Linked DNA regions of Homo sapiens: regions 2, 3, 4 and 5 are each linked to region 1. Evidence: promoter capture Hi-C in 16 types of primary human blood cells and fetal thymus (Javierre and others, 2016). All regions are on one chromosome and are shown on one strand. Each heading gives the region's core, a stretch centred on a gene start or on the middle of the fragment in contact. The rest is flanking DNA. Distances are from core to core; before and after follow the strand shown. Region 1 holds the start of YPEL2 (yippee like 2). Region 2 overlaps VMP1 (vacuole membrane protein 1). Region 3 overlaps PTRH2 (peptidyl-tRNA hydrolase 2). Region 4 overlaps CLTC (clathrin heavy chain). Region 5 overlaps CLTC (clathrin heavy chain).

Region 1 (4,242 bases), core at 1-2,500:
TATTTTAAAAACAGCTGGGTGGAGATGCAGGTGAGCCAGCATTCTGGGTGTACGTGCAAACCAGTGTGTGGAAGGCGGAGAGTCAGCTGCACCTCCTGCAGCACCTCACATCCTGATGGCTGCACAGTAAAACACTAGTTTCCTTGGAGGAAGAGTTCCCAGAGGAACTGCGGAACCCCAGTGTCTTGAGCGAAAGGCAGGACCTGCTTTGTTCACCTTGTCCGTGCCAACATTCTTTATCAAACTGTCCTGTTTTCCTGCTGGGAAACTGCCCCACTCCACCCACCTGGTGCCTCCCTGGTTTCCTGACTGCCACGAGGTTATTTTTTAACCTGCTCTTCCTTGAAAAGCACCACCCCGGTGACCCAGAACGTGGACTCCTCCCCTCTGGTCACTCGGACCATCCCACTCTAATTACCGTCATCTGCCTCTGAAAGTCATGGAAAATTAGCAGCAATGGGGCGGTCTTCAATTCCACTAAGCCCCTTTCGTACTTTTAATTCGCCGAAATTACTAGCAGGGCAGAGAGAAGAGGGGAAATGCCTGGCTTCTGAGCAAGGCATGGGTGGGCTGGGTGCAACTAGCACTATCATTTTCTTTTAATTTTATTATTATTATACTTTAAGTTTTAGGGTACATGTGCACAATGTGCAGGTTTGTTACATATGTATACATGTGCCATGTTGGTGTGCTGCACCCATTAACTCGTCATTTAGCATTAGGTGTATCTCCTAATGCTATCCCTCCCCCCTCCCCCCTATCATTTTAAATTCAATTACCCGGGGCCTGAGGGCCACTTCTGGTAACTTAGGCTATGGCTTAGGGCGAGGTTTAAAACGTAAGAAAGGAATGACTATCTTGAGCCTCCAGGGAGATGCACTGCAAATCCCCCCGCCCCAAAATACAACCCAGGTTCTGGGAATCCCAGCCCTGCCCTGGGGACAAACCCCAAACTCAAATAAACGGCCTCCTCCTAGGCGCTGAGAGCCCACCCAGCTTTGGCACTCTGGGTCCCTGCCCTCCGGCAAGTTGCCGGGACGGGCGGGACCCTAACCAGCCGCTCTCCCCTAGCCCAGGCTGGGCCGGGCCGAGGGGTGGGGGAGTGGGCGGTCGGGGAAGCGGGGGGCGGAGTTCCGTCCTCTGATGATTGGCTCTGCGCGGATGGGCTGCGGCTGCGCCCGGCCAACCCGCGGCGTGTTGCTATGTGCTGAGCCGAGGGGATAGGTGCGGGGGCGCGTCCATCACGGGGTAGCCCCCGGCCCGGACCCGGAGGGATGCGGAGTGGCGGCCGCGGCGGTGGCGGAGACTGTGGCTTTAAGAGCGTGCCGGGAGCCCGAGCCCCAGCCGGGCCGCGCTTCGCCGCTGCGCACCCCAGCGGAGCCAAGCCCCACGCTGGCCGGACAGGGCCGCCTGTCGCCGGGTAAGTGCACCGGAGTGCGGCGCGGGCCGGGCGCGCGTGGGCGTGGGGCGCGCTGTCAGCTCGGGCTCTGGGTCCCCGGCCCCGGCCTCCGGACTCCCCCGGCCGGGCCTGCGCGGGGTTGGGGGTGCGGCGCCCTCGGTTCCGCGTGGGGTCCCCGTGGGCGCCGGGGACGGGGAGCGGCCGCCGGGCCACGTGACCGGTTTGTTTACAAACACTGCCGGGCCCGCGGCCGCTCGCGGAGGGAGCCCAAGGGCGCGGGACCCCCGGCCGGGGCGGGAGACGCGCGCCAGGGGCTGGGCGAGTCTGCGGGGCCAGGTTTGGGGCGGGGGTGCGGAGCTGGAATCGCCGCTTCCTCCTCCGCGTCGTCCCCATGGGTTCGGACTCCATGGGGTCCGGGTGGGGCTGGGGACGCCCTCCGTCCTCTCGTGACGCCGCGTTTCCCTCGGAGAGTCCTGGGGACACTTAGGTCCAGGGGCGCCGCCCTGGGGGCCTTCCACTGTGGGACTGGGCGCCCTCGAAATTTCTCGGAGCGCGTCGTCTGCCCCGACCCGGGTCGAGGTAACCGCAGCCGAGTTCCTCCCTGGCCGCGTCTCGGCGCCTCCCCGGTGTCCTTGCCAAGGGGGTGGGCGCGAGGTCCTGCCCGACGGAACGCGGGAGCCTCTGCCGCGAGCGCCTCCCCGGAGCTGGCGCTTAGGGGCGGCCCCGACCTTTCGCCACTTCCAGTTCACCCTGCTTGGCCGCCGACCTCCTCTGGTGTCTTTCCCGGAGTGGTGGGCTTTTCTCCGGTCTTGGGGGCGTGCGGGGGTGGGGGACACCTGTTCTTCTGGACTTCTTGTCCGGAAGATTGCTACCTCTGCCTTCAGTCTTAGCTGCGAGAGTTTAAAAAGCCAGGTGAGCGAGTGTCTTGTTTTCCTCCGCTTGGAGCGGAGCTGCACCCTCGCCCGCCCCCCAGTCCCGCCGCTGTGAAAGGCCCCAGAGAACTGCTCCGAAGCTTTGCTGGGGTTTTTGCTTTCTGGCCTCCTTGCTGATTTGCTGTCCTTGCAACTTGGGAGGCTCTTGAGTGAGTCCTTGCCTTTGGTGAATCTGAAGGCTAACGAGACAGCTGTCTTTTCCTCCCTGCCCTTCCTTCCTTGTTCTTCCTTGTTCCAAAGCATTGGGCAAGAAGGGTAGCGGTCAGCTTCCCTGTGCCTCACAGAGCATTAAAGATGCAAGAAGTTCAGTAAACCGCCTCACTGGCTCTGGGGTGGGACTTGATTTCACATGGTTATTGCTCCCCCGTGCTTTCCTGCCTCTGGGGGCCACAGGGCCTATGAATGGCTGAGTCTTGCCTCCGGTGAGGAACATTTTCATTCTTCTAAACTGTGTTTTGAGTGGCTGCAAGTTCTTTTCCCCAGAAACAGGCCCAGCCTGGGGAGAGCTGTGCAGACTTCCCCCTTGGCACCATCCCCTGTCCCCAGCTCCATGATAGGATCTCAGGCAGGAGTGCAGTGGGAGCCTCATCCGCTTCCTCAGTTGGGCTTTGCCGCCGCAGGTTAGCATTCAATGACAGCATTTCTTGGATCTGTCTTGATATTTCTGTGCTTGAACCAAAATCAAGAAGCTTAGAGTTAGGGGTGGAAAATGGAAAATAAACACCATGCGCGAGAAAACTGTTTTCCTTCTTCCCTCTAGGAGCATGGTTTTCAGACTTTGAGTGGGACCTGCACTGCATACAGGTCTGTAACTGAAATAAGTTTCAGAGAACAATAATTACCCTTACTCCCTGCAGTGTGCTCTGTTTTAAAGGTTTTTTTTTCTACTTCATTTAAAAAAATCAACTGCTGGTTATGACCCATTAATTTGATTTCCTGACCAAGCAGGTCCTGACCCATAGTTTGAGAAGCATCGCTTTAAGGCAGAGGTCCTCAAACTTAAATGTGTATAAAGATGACCTGGGTAGTGTTTAAAAATAGTTTGTCAGGCTACTCCGCAGATGTTTATTTTCAGTGGGCCACAGGAATCTGCATTTTTACCAGGGGACCTATGAGATTGTGATGCAGGTGCTTGATAAGAGCCCCTGATCTAGTGGGAACTGGAGGCAGTGAACAATGAAAGGTATTAACTTGGCTCTGAAGTGCAGTCAGGTATGTGACCCCATACTCTGCAATCCCAAAATCACTCAGCTGCCAATCACACTAGCTTAGGCTTTGAAAAGTCTAAGGGCACAGTATTGTTTGTTCTCAACTGCCATGAAGCAGTTGGCTTTAAGAGACTGGTATCCCTCCCTCTCCACTCCAGCCTGTTTGAGGGCTGCTGCACAGTGTTGTGTACCAGGAGATGTTTCTAGGTGTGTGGGGGTTGGAGATGTGAGTAGTGCCGATGAGTTGCGTGAGTTGCTGTGCTGTTCATAGATTATGTGAATTCTTCATTGTCGTAATGATTTTCACGGTTTTGAGGCAGCCACACAGTCATTGTGCCTGGGAGATTCACAATTGGCCAGCTGAAGAAGAGGTTGATTTTGTTTAGTATCCGTGTATTCCAGACTGCATAGCCTCGGGGGAAGGCAGGCAGGTGACTCTTTTTATTTGGGGGGGGGTGAGGAGTCAGGAGTTTGTCTACCATCAGGTCTTAATAAGAGGCACAAGTTCCCATACCTCCTGGGCTACCCCAGTCCTGGTTACTTCCCATTGTGATGGCCCAGTCCCTGTGTGCAGGCGAATCTTGTTAGGCATCCAGTTTCTGATGCTGTTATCTGCCTTCAGGCACAAACACACACACACACACACACACACACACACACACACGCCTGATGCAGCCACAGGTTAGATTTTTCCCTCTTAGTT
Region 2 (4,528 bases), core at 153-2,652, 390 kb after region 1:
GCGGGCGCCTGTAGTCCCAGCTACTCGGGAGGCTGAGGCAGGAGAATGGCATGAACCCGGGAGGTGGAGCTTGCAGTGAGCCGAGATGGTGCCACTGCACTCCAGCCTGGGCGACAGAATGAGACTCTGTCTCAAAAAAAAAAACAAAAACAAAAAACAAAAAAAACAACAAAAATTAGCCAGGTGTGGTAGTGGGTGCCTGTAGTCCCAGCTACTTGGGAGGCTGAGACAGGAGAATCACTTGAACCTGGGAAGCAGAGGTTGCAGTGAGCCGAGATTGTGCCACTGCACTCCAGCCTGGGCAACACAGCGAGACTGTCTCAAAATAATAATGATAATAATAATAATAACTGGCACATAATGGACCGTTGGTATATATTTGTTGAATTAAGAATTTGAAGTGGCTTTGTAATTGTGTGATTTTCTTCAGTTATGTTCAGCTTCTTAGACAGATCATAAGAATGCAGATGATTCTGGAGGCACTGCAGTTTTACAAAGTTTTACAGTACGTATGATTGGGGGAAGAAGAGGCAAAGTGAGGATGTTTTCAAGGGAATTTTGAAAGGCAAGGAAAAATGTTAAATCCTTTAGAAAATGGTTAAAATGCAGAAAAGCTTTGAAGTTTTTATAAGCTTAACTATTAAAACACTAGTGGGTCTTTTATTTTGGCTGTTTCATACTTGGGATGGTTTTAAATCATGCTAAATGGTCAAAATGCCAAAAAAAAAAAAAAAAGGGTTTTGATGCTTTTATAAGCTTAACTGTTTAGAACCTCAGTGGCTCTCTTGTTTGGCCTTATGCTATATTTCCTTCTTTTGGGAATGGCAAGAAGGTTTTGAAAAGTTGTTTTTTAAACTGCAAATTTATTTTGTTTATGAAGAAATAGACTGATGAAAATAACTTAGTTCCCTGGGTTATTTCTTACAAAACAAAATTTCAGACTATTATGTTTTCCAGAGAGAATTTTGGAGAAGGAAATGTCAGTATGCTGTTCTTTTTTAGCACGTTGTGTAAGAGCACATTATTTGCTCAAATGAAAACCCCTGTTGCAATAGCTTAAAAACAAAACCTTCAAATAATTGTGCAATACCATTGTTATAAGTACGCACTCATAGACCCAAAATGTTTTGGGTAAAACAATGACACTATGGGAAAGAGTAAATAGGGGCAAATGAGTTCAATTATCAGTGTTTTGTAGGAGAAAGGTTTTAGAATGTTATTTATAAGGCAAACCTTTTTGTGCCCTGTTTATCTTTTCATCACAAATTAAATAAATTTTACTTACTGTGATAGAGATGAATGGCTGGCTTTAAAATATCTTAAATATCCTTAAATATCTTATTTGTAAATATTTATCATATATTTAGATATTTACAAATGTTTAAATATCTTCAAAATATTTTTTAAAAGATATTGCCTATAGGATTTGGCTGAATATGAACACACATAGTTTTTTTTGTTTTTTTTTTTGTTTTTTTTGAGATGGAGTCCTGCTCTGTTGTCCAGGCTGGAGTGCAGTGGTGCAATCTCGGCTCCCTGCGACCTCCACCTCCTGGGTTCAAGCGATTCTCCTGCCTCAGCCTCCCGAGTAGCTGGGATTACAGGCGCAAGCCACCACACCCAGCTAATTTATGTATTTTTAGTAGAGACGGGGTTTCGCCATGTTGGCCAGGCTGGTCTCGAACTCCTGACCTCGGGTGATCTGCCCGCCTCAGCCTCCCAAAGTGCTGGGATTACAGGCATGAGCCACCACACCTGGCCAAACCCACATAGTTTTAAGTATTTGCAGAACTTAAGTATAGCTTCAAGTTAAATGACTGGCAGATGGAAAATCATTAACTTTTTTATATGGTTCCATTTCAAACATCCTCAGTTGATTTTTTTATTAATAAAATTCAGATTTGTGAAATAGATTTCCATTTTGTAAACCTATTGTGATGCTCTAGCATCTTTGGTTTTTGTTGTTATTGTTTTGTAATTGCTTGGGCTACATTATCTTTTGGCTGAATCTTCACACAAGTATGACTTAAGTTTGCAGAGTCAAACTTTAAGCTTCTATGAACTGGTCTGAATATTTTGTCCTGTGAGCTCCGATAGTGCTTTCTACTTCACGATCTTCATAATAGCTAGTATATATTGAGGTCACGTGAAAGGTGAGGCAATATGTTAGTATTTTATGTACATTATCTTGTTTAATCCTCAACCCTCTGATGTGTGTCATGTTATCTCTGTTTTACAAATTAAGAAAAACTGATGTTTAGAGAGATTTACAAATTTCTCCAGTCTGTTAGACTTTTTGTTTTTTTTTGTTTTTTTTTGAGACGGAGTCTTGCTCTGTCTCGCCCATGCTGGAGTGCAGTGGCGCGATCTCCGCTTACCACAAGCTTTGCCTCCTGGGTTCATGCCGTTCTCCTGCCTCAGCCTCCAGAGTAGTTGGGACTATAGGCGCCCGCCACCATGCCTGGCTATTTTTTCGTATTTTTAGTAGAGACAGGCTTTCACCGTGTCAGCCAGGGTGGTCTCGATCTCCTGACCTCGTGATCTGCCCGCCTCAGCCTTCGAAAATGCTGGGATTACAGGCGTGAGCCATCATGCCTGGCCCTGTTAGACTCTTAAGACCTGACTAAAACATTGTCTTTTCATCTAATTTTATTAAAATGCCTATTTCATCCCATTCTGTTATAATTGATTTCTTGTGTTCATTTGGCTTCTTTACCAGACTGTGATCCTCTTGAGGACAGGGACCTCCTTATCCTATTAATATTTGTATCCTCAGTGCCCATTGGAGACCCCCGAACTTTTAAAATGAGAGCTGAATGAACAACACTGGCATCACTGATACAATAACAATGAGGCATGTGCTGTGAAGTTGTTTTTTATAGTTTAGGCATTTTGTACGTTTATTACCTCCTACTCTTTTGATGTATTGGTATTTATAGTCACACATGCATGCGTATCAACAAACATACACATGCATACATAGATTATTTCATCTACACATCAATCATTTGAAAGTGGCAATTATTGTCCTCATTTTGTGAATCCAAACAATGAAGGACTAAAGAAAATGAAACTTTGCTTAAGATCACACAACTAATCAGTGGCAAATCTGGGATCAAATCCAGATTTTTCAGATTTTAAATCTTATGATTGTCTACTTAAGGCTATCTATACTAATAGAAACCTATATTTTATTTCTTGATGTGTTTATTTGCTTATTCAGCATTGAAGACAACAAAACAAAGGTATACACAAATGGATTGTATCTTAAAAAGGAGAATATTACAGTGATGAATGTGTGCTTTTTTTTCTAGTGATTTTTATAGGCTTTCACTTGTTTTCCTTTATGAGGCATAAATTTTGAAAATAGTTACAATAGTTAGAGTTTAGACAAGGAATAAATTAGCACCAGCTATCAAACTACAGGAAGATTGGACCCATGACCATATCATATTCTGATCAGCTAAATATAAATCTAGCATGACTCTTGGCACATACAAAGTGTTCAGTTAGTATTTGTTCAGTGAATAGGTAAACAAACCTTATACAAGCATCTTATCAAGTGACTTCATGAATTTTCTTTCTTAATAATATAACCCCCTAACTCATATATCTGACTTTGAATTCTAAATTGTCACTGAATCCGCTCATAAAATATAAAAATTTGAGCCACTTGGCCATGAGAATACTCCTAATACTCTTGGGTCTTCTATTAAATATAGAGACGCGTGGGTAGTGGCTCATGCCTGGAATCCCACCACTTTGGGAAGCTGGGGCAGGAGGATCGCTTCAGGCCAGGAGTTCGAGACCAGCCTGGGCAACATAACTAAATGAATGAATGAATAAATGAGATTATTTATTTATTTATTTATTTATAATCTATGAATATATTATTCATATGTATTCATAACATATATTTCCTATGAATATTTGGAAGTTTGGATAGTTCCTGCTGGTGACTATTCTTAAACAGCTTTATTGAAACATAATTCACATATCATATAATTCACCCATTTAAACGGTATATTCACATCTATGCAACTATCAAAACAATTTTAGAACATTATCATCACCCCAGAAAAAAACTCACAACTCATTGGCAGCTACTCCCCATTTTTCTCCAGCTCATCTGCTAATCCACTTTCTGTTATCATGGATATGCATATTCTGGAAATTTCATATAAATGGGAATCATAACAAGTAGTCTTTTGTGACTGACTTCTTTCACTTAGCATATTTTCAGACTCCATTGATGCAGTAGTATGTATTACTACTTTATTTCTTTTTATGGCTAATATTTCATTGTTTGGGTATACCATATACCGTATTTCCTATATCCATTCATCAGTTGATAAGACATTTGGGTTATAGGCTGGGCGCAGTGGCTCACGCCTGTAATCCCAGCACTTTGTGAGGCCGAGGCAGGCAGATCACAAGGTCAGGAGTACAAGACCAGCCTAACCAACATGGTGAAACCCCGTCTCTACTAAAAATACAAAAATTAGCCAGGCATGGTGGCGGGCACCTG
Region 3 (4,543 bases), core at 455-2,954, 370 kb after region 1:
TGGAAGTACTTATAAATTTCCTTTATGTTCTTCTTTAAAGTTAGGGCATTATATTAACATTCTTTCCACTAATTTTAACATAAAAGGGGTTACTGTCTTTGGTGGGGCAGAAATTCGTTTGAGGTGGGGTCAAGAGATAGAGCAAAAAGAAAAAGCAATGGATATAAGGCGACACAGAGGAAAGCAATTTTTTTTTTCTCCTAAGAAGAAAGGATAAGCATATTTAAATGTTAATAGGATGAAGCCAGAAGAAAGGCAGGTAAATGCTCAAGATAGAGAAAGACTTTATAAAGGGATGTGGTTTTGGAAAGGAAAAGGGACACCTTTCCCAATTTCAGTTTTAAATCAAGTAGGTCCACGGATTTGAAGGCAGGAAAGTATTCCCCCTGAGGGAAGGAGCTCAGACAGAAGTTAAAATGGAGTAGAGAAGAGAAAGGCGGAAATAAAAGGTGTGGCAAAATATGGCAGGATTGCAGAGGAATATTGAAAGCATGGTTAAGATTAATGATGACTTTTTAATGGCAACATACTATTTGTGATTTTCTCCAGTAGTACTTAGAAGCCAAAAGACTAAAACTACTAATCACTTCCTCCAGACATACAAACTAACCTCCATCCACACTCATCCTTTGCTCTCCCCTCCTACTGAAATGGTAGTTGGATGTATCCAAGTTTAAATTATGCCAGGAGCACGCCCCAAGACACAGTGGTACAAGGGAATTTAGGATAAGGGTAAGAATGTTTGACATGATAGACCATGCAACCTGTGTTATTACATTTTTCTCTTTTGGCCTACCTGATAAAAAGCAACCTGTATTATCAAAGACTGATTTATGGACAATAAAGTGATGCATGCTATTTATCTAGACATGCTGTTGAAGAACAGGTGTAATGAAAGTAAACTGGAAAGACTTAGAGCGATGCATAGGGTTTTGATTTTGGAGACGAACAATTACAAAGAACATAGCTATAGGAATGGGTATCTGAAATAGAAGTGTGACTACTTTCTACTTTTTCAATTCTTTTAGTTTTATGATATACTGCTTCCCTTCCACAAATACTGATTGACCCTGTTCTAGAATCTAAGGGATACAGGAGTGCACAAAGCAGAAAAAGTCCTTTCTCTAATGAAGCTTACATTTTAGCAATGGTTTTGAAATGGTCCAATCCTAATTTTGAATTTCTTTCATGCTGTTTTAAAACTTTGGGGTTTTTTTGTTTGTTTGTTTGTCTATTTGAGATGGAGTCTCGCTCTGTCGCCCAGGCTAGCATGCAGTGGCGCGATCTCAGCTCACTGCCAGCTCCGCCTCCCGGGTTCATGCCATTCTCCTGCCTCAGCCTCCCTACAGGCACCCACCATCACACCCGGCTAATTTTTTTTTTTTTTTTTTGTATTTTTAGTAGAGACAGGGTTTCACCGTGTTAGCCAGGATGGTCTCAATCTCCTGACCTCGTGATCCGCCCACCTCGGCCTCCCAAAGTGCTGGGATTACAGGTGTGAGCCACTGTGCTCGGCCAAAACTTTGTCTTTATAGCTCAAAATTTCCACAATACTTTGACATGTATTGTTATTTGATCCACTGAGAAGTGAGGATTACTGCCATATCAAAAATGAAGAAATTCAGACCAAGAGAAGTTAAGTTCAATAAAACAAATGTTTACTGGCTATCTATGTGCCAGCCATACACCCTGTTAAGCTGAGGATATAGTGATGAATATGGGCCACTGTCAGCTGTTCATAGATAAGTAGTGAAGACAAATAATTGCAAGACTGGTAAATGTTATAAAAAGGTGTTTGACAGTCCCATCGGGGGTGAGATGGGAGGCAGTAACAGATCATCAGACATTAGATTCTCATAAGAAGTACACAACACAGATCCCTCGCATGGGCAGTTCATAACAGGGTTCACACTCGCATGAGAATCTAATGCTGTCGCTAATTAGACGGAGCTCAGGAGGTAATGTTAGCGATGGGGAGTGGCTGCAAATACAGATAAAACTTCACTCAGTTGCCCACCACTCACCTCCTGCTGTGCGGCCCAGTTCCTAACAGGCCACAGGGACGCCTGTTCTAAAAGATACCTGAGCCTTGACTAGCAGTTGGCAATAGATACAGGGAGATCATTTCAGAGGCTGCTATAATGTAGTAATAGTTAACATTTATGAAGTGTTCTGCTACACACTGGCTAAACACTCTATAGGAATTGTCTTCTTTAATGTGCCTAACAGCACTTCAAGGTAAATAGAGCTGGTCATGGACTTACTGTAGTTTCGCTTAAGCTTTTTGGCTTTACAATGGTTCAAAAGCAACACATATTCAGTAGAAACTTTACCCATACAAACATTCTGTTTTTCACCTTCAGTACAGTATTCAACGAATTACATGAGATATTCAACACTTGTAGGCCTTATGTTAGATGATTTTGCCCTATTGTACGCTAATAAATTAAGTGTTCTGAGCACCTTTAAGGTAGGCTAGGCTAAACTACCATGTTTGGTAGGTTAGGTGTATTAAATTTATTTCCAACTTCTATTTCCTTTTCTAAGAGACAGGGTTTCACTCTTTTGTCCAGGCTGGAATACAGTGGAGTGATCATAGCTCACTGCAGCCTCGAACTCCTGAGCTCAAGCAATCCTCCCACTTCAACCTCCCCAGTAGCTGGGACTACAAGCACATACCACCACACACTGCTAATTTAAAAAAAAACTTTTTTTTTTAAGACACAGGGGTTTCATTATGTTGCCCAGGCTGGTCTCGAACTCTGGGCCTCATATGATCCCTCCCACCTCAGCCTCCCATGTAGCTACATTTACAGGCATGAGCCACTGTGCCTGGCTCTCAATTTATGGTACTTTCAATTTATGATGGGTTTATCAGGATATAACCCCACCCTAAGTTGAGAAGCATCTATATATAATTATGATCCCCATTTTTCGGATGTAGAAAAATGAGGTACACAAGTTATAGCTTGCCTAAATTCACCCAGCTCATAAGTGGTCGTCTTAATCCAGAGCCCTTGTTCTTTTTTCTTTTTGAGACAGAGTCTTGTTCTTGTCTCCCATGCTGGAGTGCAATGGCACAATCTCGGCTCACTGCAACCTCTGCCTCCTGGGTTCAAGTGATTCTCCTGCCTCAGCCTCCCAAATAGCTGGGATTACAGACACCCGCCACTACACCGAGCTAATTGTTTGTATTTTTAGTAGAGACGGGGTTTCACCAGGTTGGCCAGGCTGGTCTCAAACTCCTGATCTCAGGTGATCCAGCCACCTCGGCCTCCCAAAGTGCTGGGATTACGGGCGTGAGCCACCATGCCCTGCCGAGCCCTTGTTCTTTTTTTTGGAGACGGAGTCTCACTCTATTGCCAGGCTGGAGTGCAGTGGTGCAATCTTGGTTCACTGCAACCTCCACCTCTGGGGTTCAAGTGCTTCTCCTGCCTCAGCCTCCCAAGTAGGTGGGACTTCAGGCATGTGCTACCACACCCGGCTAATTTTTGTATTTTTAGTAGAGATGGGGTTTCACCATGTTGGCCAGGCTAGTCTCGAGCTCCTGACCTCAGGTGATCCACCCACCTCGACCTCCCAAAGTGCTGGGATTGCAGGCGTGAGCCACCATGCCCTGCCGAGCCCTTGTTCTTAACATTACTATATCAGGCCTCTCCCAGCAGTCTAGATGAGATGATGGTCATTTAGACAACAGTAGTGGGAATGAGAAATAAAAAAAGTGTCTAAGGTACACCTGTCTGATTTAGTGACTGACAGGAAGTCTGGTGGCAAAAGAAAGGGAGAAGTTAATAATGACAGCTAGATTTGAACAAATGGAGAATTTTGGTGAAATACCAGGTTTGAATGGAAAAGATAATGAATTAGTTTTGTTCTGAACAAAAGACATCTCAGAGATATCTAGAAAGAAGAAAAAAAAGGATATATCAGCTTAAAGGACAGAAAGGTCTAGGATATATCAGTTTAAAGTCAGAAAGGTCTGGGCTGGAAATATAGATTTGAGAGACCTTACCATATAATTGAAGTTACTGAAGAGATGGAAGAGTATGAGGCCACTTGGACAAATATGTAGAATGAAGAAAGGACTAAAACATAATCCTGAGGAAATGAACATTAGGAATCAAAGGAGACTGACATGGAGTGGCCAGGAGTAGGAGGGTCACATAGGGTAAGCTGTAGTGCACCTAGTTTCAGTGCTCTTCCACTCAAGTGCCTAAATACGGTGACAGGGCTGCACAGACATAGTATTTATGGTTCTAGTGCCTTTACAGCCCCCACCCCCTAAAAGAGACAAAGACAGAGAATTCTTTTTTTTTTCTTAAGACGGCATCTCACTTTGTCACCCAGGCTGGAGTGCAGTGGCGCCATCTCAGCTCACTGCAACCTCTGCCTCCGGGTTCAAGCAATTCTCCCGCCTCAGCCTCCCACGTACATGGGATTACAGGCACCCGCCACCACACCTGGCTAATTTTTGTATTTTTAGTAGAGACGGGGTTTCACCATGTTGGCCAGGCTGGTCTCGAACTCCTGACCTCAAGTGATC
Region 4 (4,295 bases), core at 526-3,025, 300 kb after region 1:
TAGGAGCATTGTTTGAGCCCAGGAATTCAAGACCAGCCTGGGTAACAGAGTTAAGACCTCGTCTCTATATTAAACAAACAAAAATGAAGAAAAAGGAAAGCAGATATGCAATACTTCAGTGATCCCAAACATACTTAAGTTTTCCAGTAATTGAATCACTTACTGGTTATTATTTAATTTTAATTACTTTAAAATTACGGTAACCACATTTCAAGTGCTCATTATGGTATGTAGGTTGTGACTTGTGGTTACCATATTGGACAACACAGGTTAAGTCTAACCTCTTGCTTTTTTTTCTCTGGGAAATGGGCATACTTATCTCACAAAGTTATTATGAGGATCTGAGATCATGTATGTGAAAGTACTTTACGTAGCATTTTAGGAGCATTAATTATTGGCTAAATAATTTTTGTCCAGTACATTTTATTCAGGTATCTCAACCAATGACACAATATTCATTTACAGATCCAGTGTTTTATGGTGTATAAGTATTTGGGGTTAACACATTTACCTAAGATTTGAGTACTTACTGCAGATGAGGAACTGTGTTAGACTCTAGGGACAAGGTGGTAAACAAGATGGACTACACCTTGCATTCATGCTTCCATTGATGAGTTGGCAAAGGCTGTACACTTGTTATTCCAACCATTGATGTTGTCTACTTGATTGTGGATCTTTTATGTGTTCGAACATTTGATATTGTGCACAGTTTAATACAAATATTGATATGATACAAAGTTGATTACACTCTGAAACTGCCCCCCAAAAAGAAACTTTTAAATAAATCTTTTATTATGTTCCACGAGTCTCATTGTGTGCCACTGGTACATTTTAAATTAGGGTTCCTTGAACAGACATATTTGAAAAAAAAACTTAATGAATCATATCGGATAAAATACCCATATGGAATGCCGGTCAGGCGATTGTTAGAGTTATTGTATGTGTTGTATGTGTCCTTTTTTAGGGTGGTAGTGTTGAAGTGAATCTTCTCACTTAGATGAGCAGTAGGTTCATGGCTGATATTTTAGTCCTGTATATTAGAATGAGGCTGTTTCTCTAAGTTCATGCACTATATGCCATGCCAAAACTACTTCATGAAATAAACCTGTCTTCTGAGCCACAGCAAAGTTTACAGCTCTGGGTGTCTTGTCTTTGCTTCTTGGTTAAGTGCCTATGGCTAATGCTCTTAACTCAAAAGATGGCTGAAAGCTTGGACCTAAATGTGTTATGCAAAACCCATCTGTCAGACTTTTGTGAGTCTCTTCTTTTGTATTATCTCCTTAAATTAAGACATAATTTAAGATATTTTTGTCCTACTTTTTTTGGGGGGTGGGGACAGGGTCTCACTCTGTTGCCCAGGCTGGAGTGCAGTGGCATGATCAAGGCTCACTGCAGCCTTGACCTCCCTGGGCTTAGGTAATCCTCCCACCTCTGCTCCCTAAATAGCTGGGACTACAGGCGTGCGCCACCAAACCCGGCTAATTTTTGTATTTTTTTTGTAGAGTCGGGGTTTTGCCATGTTTCCCAGGATGGTCTCAAAATCCCGGGCTCAAGCAGTCCACCTGCCACAGCCTCCCAAAGTGCTGAAATTACAAGTGTGAGACACCAAGCCTTGTCCTATTTTTGAGGCAGTAACTATTCAAATCTTAATTGTCCTGTAATCTAATCCATAAAATCAAAATACATGGGCCATTATAGTTGTTTGAGCACCTATTACGTGCCAAGAACTGTATTAAATATTTAATGTTTATTATCTCATTTAATTAGCAAGAGAACCCTTGTGCTTAGGTCAGATTAGCCTTATTGTAGAGATTGGGCAACTGAAGTTCATAGTAGGTAACTTTTAGAGTCACACAGCTAGTGAGCAGTCAGACTTTTAATATTTATTCTTTCATTTGGCTCATTGCCTCATTTGGTAAATGGTCTGTATCATTTGAATTGCAAAATGTACCACAATTGTTTATATCTATGCTGTGATGTTCTTTGATTCTAGTAGTACTGTCGTTTGTTTATCGTGAAATATTTTTTATATTATGAGAAAAGTAGGAGACAGCAAACTAACATCTGACTTTATGCCTTGAATGATTATTTAGCTGTATCTTTTTTAAGGACTTTATCCTGTTTCCTATTGGAAAATTGTGCAGGATGATTGGGATCCGGTTAACTTGTAACCAGGATTGTCTGCATCCCTCTCATAAGACTGAACTTGTCACACTTTTCTATAGACTTTTTCTTACTGAAAAGAATGAGTGTGTTCCAGTCTGAAGCCACTTGTGAAAGGAGGAAACTTCTGCTTTCTATTTTACTGTAAATTCATGTTTTTGTGTTTATGCCAAGAAATAGAAGCTTGAACTCAACGAAGGCAGTTGTGCATGAAAGGGATAGGAAATGAAGGTGACAATGGAATATATTTGCTCATTTTGAGTAGCATCATGGTAGAAAGGAAAATGGTTACAGACTTGTAGGGTTGTGCTTTGGAGGCAGACTGCCAGTACTGTTAATACTTCTTGTTCCTAATCCTTAGGTAAATAAGGATTTTCTTCAAGTTCTGAAGTAAGACGGTTTTAAAGATTATTGCTGAAAGAATAGGAACCAGATCCATTAAAGCCATATTTTGTCACATTAAAAAACTCTGCAGTGTGCTATTCTGGAAAATGTCTCAGATGTTTAATCTGGGCTTATCTATTGATTATGTCAGGTTTTCAACTTGTCTCAACTTCCTCATTTATTAAAACAATATTTCCTGGCAATTTTAAAGTTAGACTACAGTATGTTTTTGTATTTGTAGTATAATATTTAGCCCCTTAACCCCTTACAGGCACTCGAATATTAGTTCTTCCCCTCCACCCTGGAAGAGTTTCCCTTTGTCCACTTGAGTTGAATATATGTGCCGTACTAAAGGAGAAAAACTACCATCTACCCAGTTATTGAAGCCAAGATCTTGAAGTTACACCAGACTCTCTAATTTCTCATTTTCTGCATCCGTCGATTTCTGGAGTTCCTCAGTGATGCACACTGGGGGTCTCAGGGATGACAGTTTTTCATGACCCTAGGTTGAAACTGGGAGTCATAGAAGACGAAAAAACGAGAATTGGATTGGGAGTTGACTCTGTTGCCCAGGCTGGAGTACGGTGGTGCAATCTTGGTTCACTGCAACTTCCGCCTCCCAGGTTCAAGCAATTCTCCTGCCTCAGCCTCCTGAGTAGCTGGGACTACAGGGGCCCGCCACCAGGCCTGGCGAATTTTTTTTGTATTTTTAGTAGAGATGGGGTTTCACCATGTTGGCCAGGCTGGTCTCAAACTCCTGACCTCAAATAATCTACCCTCCTCAGCTTCCCAAAGTGCTGGGATTACAGGCGTGAGCCATCGTGCCTGGCCAACTTGCATTTATTTCTGATTAGCTGCTCATCTGAGAAAGGTGGCTTAAAAAAAACCACCAAAGTGGACAGACTGAAGCTAAAGACTGTCAGTATATATGCTCTGCTTGGCAAACAGCTGACTTTGGATAGATCTCATTATTTAAAGATGAATAATAAGGGGGAAAAACGTGTAGAGAGAACATGGTTTACAAAAACCCATCTCTTTCTCCAGTCTCTGCAATATTCTATATTTGGTCATATTGAACTATGAAAATCTAAGGCAGGTTTCTTTATTTTACCACAGATATCCTCAGGAAAGAGTCTCCTTATTAAAAGCCTTACTGAATCTCCATAGTATTGTGTCCTCTCACAGTTGCTTCTGTTCTGAGCACCAGAATGCTGTTTGGCAAAGGCTGCTGTAGGCTTGAAATCAACTGGATTAGTGAGAGACAAATTTTACACATCTAAAATTCTCCTGTGTATGGCCTCACAGTTGGAACTGTTGGATGTTATAAGCAGATGATTTAAATATCCCGTGAAAAGCAGTCCATTCGGGCATGTTTCTAGAGATCATAATTTTTTTTTTTTTTTTTTTTGAGATGGAGTCTTGCTCTGTCGCCCAGGCTGGAGTACAGTGGCATGATCTTGGCTCACTGCAACTTCTGCCTCCCGGGTTCAAGCGGTTCTTCTGCCTAAGCCTCCCAAGTAGCTGGGATTACAGGTGCCCGCCACCATGCCTGGCTGATTTTTGTAATTTTAGTACAGATGGGATTTCACCATGTTGTCCAGGTTGGTGTTGAACTCCTGACCTTGTGATCCGCCTGCTTTGGCCTCCCAAAGTGCTGGGATTACAGGCATGAGCCACCACACCCAGCCTAGAGATCATAATTTACATAGAAAGATAAGAGAAAAACAACTCTCCTGATAACGCAAATA
Region 5 (4,433 bases), core at 268-2,767, 310 kb after region 1:
AACCTCATGATCCGCCTGCCTCGGCCTCCCAGAGTGCTGAGATTACAGGCGTGAGCCACCACGCCCAGCCAGCTCTTCCTATGTATTTATGCAAGTACAATAACTAGGGTTTACCTTTTTAAGTATATTGATTAAGTTTGGTTAAAGAAAATAGATCTGCTAATACCGAACTTGATTTAAACCACTTTAATTACTTTTACTTGGAATGTATCTGTGGAATGTCTTAACATATATCTACTTAGAATAATTTTAAGTTTTAGAATAAATGCATTTAAATTTTGTATCTGGTATAAAACTGTGCTAAACATATCTCTCTACAGAGGAAAGAAATTAGTGATTCATATTCTGGAATAGAACATACTTTACTAATATTAGCACCTAAACATTGCAGAATTTTGTTATGATGATAAACTTGCCTTTGATTCTGTGCTTTTTTTTTTATACTTCGGGCTTGTGTTTCACTTAGATTATTGGGTTCTAGAAATGGCTTGAATTTACAGTAATTGTTTAAAGTGTGTTTGTATTTAGGTGGATATTAAAGCTCTTGAGTGAAGGGTATTTGAGTTTATTCAGACTAACTTTTTAATTGTCCCAACAAGGGAACTGTGCAGCTTAAGTCTAAACAGAGTTCAAAGACTCTTAGACTGTCACGGAAGCTGTATTCCTTTGAACTTTAGAATGAGACTAATTGACCCTTTAAAACAGATGTTTTTAAGAGGGCTCGGTGACAAACTGACTCTTAAAAAGGCATTCGATTGCCTGCTTTGTTTTTCATTTTGATAGAAGAAAGAAGAGTTCAAGTTCGCAGTAATTTGTTGATAAATTTGTGACTAAGTTATTAGAGGTGCTGAACTTTGACTTTTCTTTACATGATTTAAACTTTGTATATAGTAATAATACTAGTTGGAGAGTGAATAGGGTTGGGTAGGACTAGGATATTCAAACAAATAAGTCACTATCACATATCTAAGATAGAAACTCATCTCATCTCGAGGAAAAATGGTCCAGCTTTCACATAGGACCAGATGTTTTGTGACAGTAAGTGTTTTACTTCTATTACTTCTATTTAGGGTATTAAGCTTCCTTCAGACTCTTTAAAGAATTTAAATTCAGGTCCTTAGCAATTCCCATGCCTCTCTATTAAAAGGCCATCATTTTAATTTTGCCAAAATTCTTTTCTATTTTTAATGTTATTGTTATCTTATCACATTTCTTAATGCTTTCTTATGTGTGCAGATGGTGAGTTATCTTAAATTAGATTGTATTAGTTATTGTCCTGTTCTATAAAAAGAATAAATTGAAAAGATTTTCGGAGCATTGTACAATAACATCATAGATTTGTCCCTATATGTCTGCACTATGGAGTCAAGCTGTCATCCCTTGTCCCCCTCCCCAAGACCACCCCACTTATGTATATATTCCAACCCCTAATAATCTGGGAGTTGAGGAAGGCAGCAAAGGAAAGTAAGTCATTCCAAAATACTGCTTCCCTCTGAAGCCAGTTTTGAACCCCTTGGCTTCTTTTTATAAACAGGACTGTAACTCTCACAATTTTTCAAGTCTGGTTGTGGTTTACATACTGTGTGGGATGGGAATAACATTCTTCATTTTATGAAAGAAATTTTTGCACATGTGTTACGGAGGGTTGTAGTACAAAGCTGTATGTTTTGCCCCCCTTCTTTGTCCCCCCAGCACCCGAATCTTAAAATTTTGGTCCTTCAGGAGCCAGATTCTCTGTGTCTCAGGAATGGTGTTTTTCTTAGTCTTTAAAGACTAATCTTGATAGCCTAGTGATAGTTGTAGGCTTTGGCCTCTATTAATTTATACCAAATCACATTTTGAACTGATGGATTTCAAACTACAAGTACAAGCCTTTGCATCTGACTCAGTGGACTCTTAACACTCAAGGCAAATTTCATCCTTTTTTAACTAAATGCTTGCTTTCTTAATTGGATGAAGCTTGCACTTTGTTCTTATCTCCAGTATATTAACAGCATCTGAAACTATCCTCTTCCTTTGTCTCCCTCTCCTTTCCTCCAGCACCTCTACCTTCCCTTTGTTATCTTAAGCCGGTTAAATGTAGCAGGCACTTCTCTTACGTGCTAGTGGCAACAAGACAGAATTGAAGCAGATCCTCTTTTTAAAAAGCAGTTTCCACAAGATTTATTTAGATGAGAGATGACTGCCTTTAAAAAAATACATTTTCTTTCCCCCATGTGTTTGTTATCAGAGTTGCTTTGTCTTGTGTACATGCAACTAAGTTTATGTGTAAAGTAAACATACTTAATTACAAGTATGAAGGTGACAGCTTTGTTTTCAATTATTGTTAAGAAAACTATTCATTAGGCTTATTTTCAGTTGGGATTTAGAATTCCATGGAAGTCATACTATCTGTTTAAAGTGTGTTTATTAGAGGTAATGTAGTTTTTGCTTAAAACGTAGATGTAGATTGTTTGCTTAGTCTTAGCTGTTACCTCTTTAATGGTTGCTGCTGTATCGATGCAACTCGTCTCGTAATAGAACTATTTTTGTTTGGAAGTGACAGAGCTAGTCTAGGTAGGTATTCATTCTAAACTTTACTCTTTTAATGATTTATAATTCTTGATTTTGTTTTTAGCTGGGAAAACTCTTCAGATTTTTAACATTGAAATGAAAAGTAAAATGAAGGCTCATACCATGACTGATGATGTCACCTTTTGGAAATGGATCTCTTTGAATACGGTTGCTCTTGTTACGGATAATGCAGTTTATCACTGGAGTATGGAAGGAGAGTCTCAGCCAGTGAAAATGTTTGATCGCCATTCTAGCCTTGCAGGGTGCCAGATTATCAATTACCGTACAGATGCAAAACAAAAGTGGTTACTTCTGACTGGTATATCTGCACAGGTAACATTTTAACTATTTTTTTATGAAGAAGAGGTTTAGAACACGGTTGTGCCCAGAATGCAGTTTGATTTTGAAATTAGGTCTTTCTATACTCAATCCTGTTGAATTTCACTTATTTTGGAAGACTTTTTTTTTCCTTCCTCCCATCCCTTCTCTTCTCCTTCCTCCCTCCCTTCTCTTCTTCCTCGCTCCCTTGCTATACTGACATATAATTTCAGAATGCTCTTACCAAGCGTTTTTAGCTCTTCTGTGGAGATTGAGTAGAAATTGAGTTTCTGTAAGAATGATTTGGGATTTATTATGGAGTATTTACTGCAGAATGAATGCTTCTATACCTTTTTGTTTAAGACGTATATGAGGCATATTTTAAACATTTATGTTAGGCTTTAACAAGATAATGTTTGGGGCTGATTTTAAGTTAAGAAGTATCAAATCTACAGTGAGAGATGAAGTGACAAATAATTATAAATCCTGCTAAAGATGACAAAGCATTCTAATTATTTCATTACTTGATGAATCTGAGAGTTTTTGATTTATGGGTCTTCAAACGTTATTCTCTTTGATCCTTTATAGCAAAATCGTGTGGTGGGAGCTATGCAGCTATATTCTGTAGATAGGAAAGTGTCTCAGCCCATTGAAGGACATGCAGCTAGCTTTGCACAGTTTAAGATGGAAGGAAATGCAGAAGAATCAACGTTATTTTGTTTTGCAGTTCGGGGCCAAGCTGGAGGGAAGGTAAGTTTTGGCTTTGGTAATTATTTTAATGAGAACTTGTATTTGGCTTTCTGCTATGAATTAGTCATCTAATTTCAAAATAGCCTTCTCCCTTCCTAAGTAATTTTAGTATTCACATTTGTGGTGACTTAATTTGTTCAAATTTTGCATCTAGTGATACTTGTCTAAAATGAATAATGTTCTTTCACAACTCGTTCTGTTGGCTGTTTATATTCTTTGATTGCTAAAGTGCACATTTATATGCTGTACATCTAGAGAGTTTGATTTAGTAGGTGTTGCCTATAATTTTTTTTGTTTATTTGTTGCTTTTTGAGACAGGGTGTCACTCTGTTGCCCAGGCTGGAGTGCAGTGGCGCAGTCATGGGCTCACTGCAGCCTCGACCTTCTGGGCTCAAGTGATCCCTCTGTCTCAGCCTCCCGAGTAGCTGGGACTACAGGCATGTGCCACCATGCCTGGCTAAATTTTGTATTTTTGTAGAGACAGGGTCTCACTATACTGCCCAGGCTGGTCTCAAACCTCTGGGTCCAAGTGATCCTCCCGCCTTGGTCTCCCAATATAATCTGCATTTTAAATACCTTATATGGCTTGATATAGAGGCAATGTAGACTACAGGTGAATAACACTGACTTAAGTTAGAGGTTTTCAACCATGACTACACATTGGAATCGCCTGGACAGATTGTAGTACTTTGTATATTAGACTTAGTTGCAGGTAATAGAAACAAGGTCTGGTTGATTAGAGCAATGGTCTGTTTAGTGAAGGATATTGGATAGTTTACAACAGCTGGGGAGGCTGTAAAACCAAGACTGGG

Evidence for each region. Contacts are between HindIII fragments. The CHiCAGO score rates a contact against its expected background, and 5 or more counts as called.
Region 2: a fragment that was not itself captured here is called in contact with the fragment with the promoter of YPEL2 in region 1 in 1 of 17 cell types (endothelial precursors); the score reaches 5.4 in endothelial precursors.
Region 3: a contact is called between a fragment that was not itself captured here and the fragment with the promoter of YPEL2 in region 1, in 1 of 17 cell types (endothelial precursors). The highest score is 5.3, in endothelial precursors.
Region 4: a fragment that was not itself captured here is called in contact with the fragment with the promoter of YPEL2 in region 1 in 3 of 17 cell types (M1 macrophages, M0 macrophages and M2 macrophages); the score reaches 8.7 in M1 macrophages.
Region 5: a contact is called between a fragment that was not itself captured here and the fragment with the promoter of YPEL2 in region 1, in 4 of 17 cell types (M1 macrophages, endothelial precursors, M2 macrophages and 1 more). The highest score is 9.2, in M1 macrophages.

The regions. Positions count from the first base shown.
Region 1 is chr17:59,330,405-59,334,646 of GRCh38, forward strand. YPEL2 (yippee like 2) reads left to right here and starts at 1,251. Exons shown (of 5, transcript NM_001005404.4): 1 at 1,251-1,420. RefSeq lists a silencer at 1,017-1,536 and an enhancer at 1,747-2,308. The HindIII fragment of the contact is 8,765 bases long and covers 1-2,409 here.
Region 2 is chr17:59,724,833-59,729,360 of GRCh38, forward strand. All of the region lies in intron 1 of VMP1 (vacuole membrane protein 1), which reads left to right. Among named protein-coding and RNA genes, the nearest start is that of VMP1, 19 kb to the left of the region's middle. The HindIII fragment of the contact is 1,296 bases long and covers 755-2,050 here.
Region 3 is chr17:59,700,487-59,705,029 of GRCh38, forward strand. All of the region lies in intron 1 of PTRH2 (peptidyl-tRNA hydrolase 2), which reads right to left. Among named protein-coding and RNA genes, the nearest start is that of PTRH2, 4.7 kb to the right of the region's middle. RefSeq lists enhancers at 2,795-3,299, 3,300-3,803. The HindIII fragment of the contact is 1,147 bases long and covers 1,132-2,278 here.
Region 4 is chr17:59,625,584-59,629,878 of GRCh38, forward strand. All of the region lies in intron 1 of CLTC (clathrin heavy chain), which reads left to right. Among named protein-coding and RNA genes, the nearest start is that of CLTC, 7.8 kb to the left of the region's middle. The HindIII fragment of the contact is 1,137 bases long and covers 1,208-2,344 here.
Region 5 is chr17:59,644,781-59,649,213 of GRCh38, forward strand. It overlaps CLTC (clathrin heavy chain), which reads left to right. Exons shown (of 32, transcript NM_004859.4): 3 at 2,618-2,886; 4 at 3,460-3,621. Among named protein-coding and RNA genes, the nearest start is that of CLTC, 27 kb to the left of the region's middle. The HindIII fragment of the contact is 880 bases long and covers 1,078-1,957 here.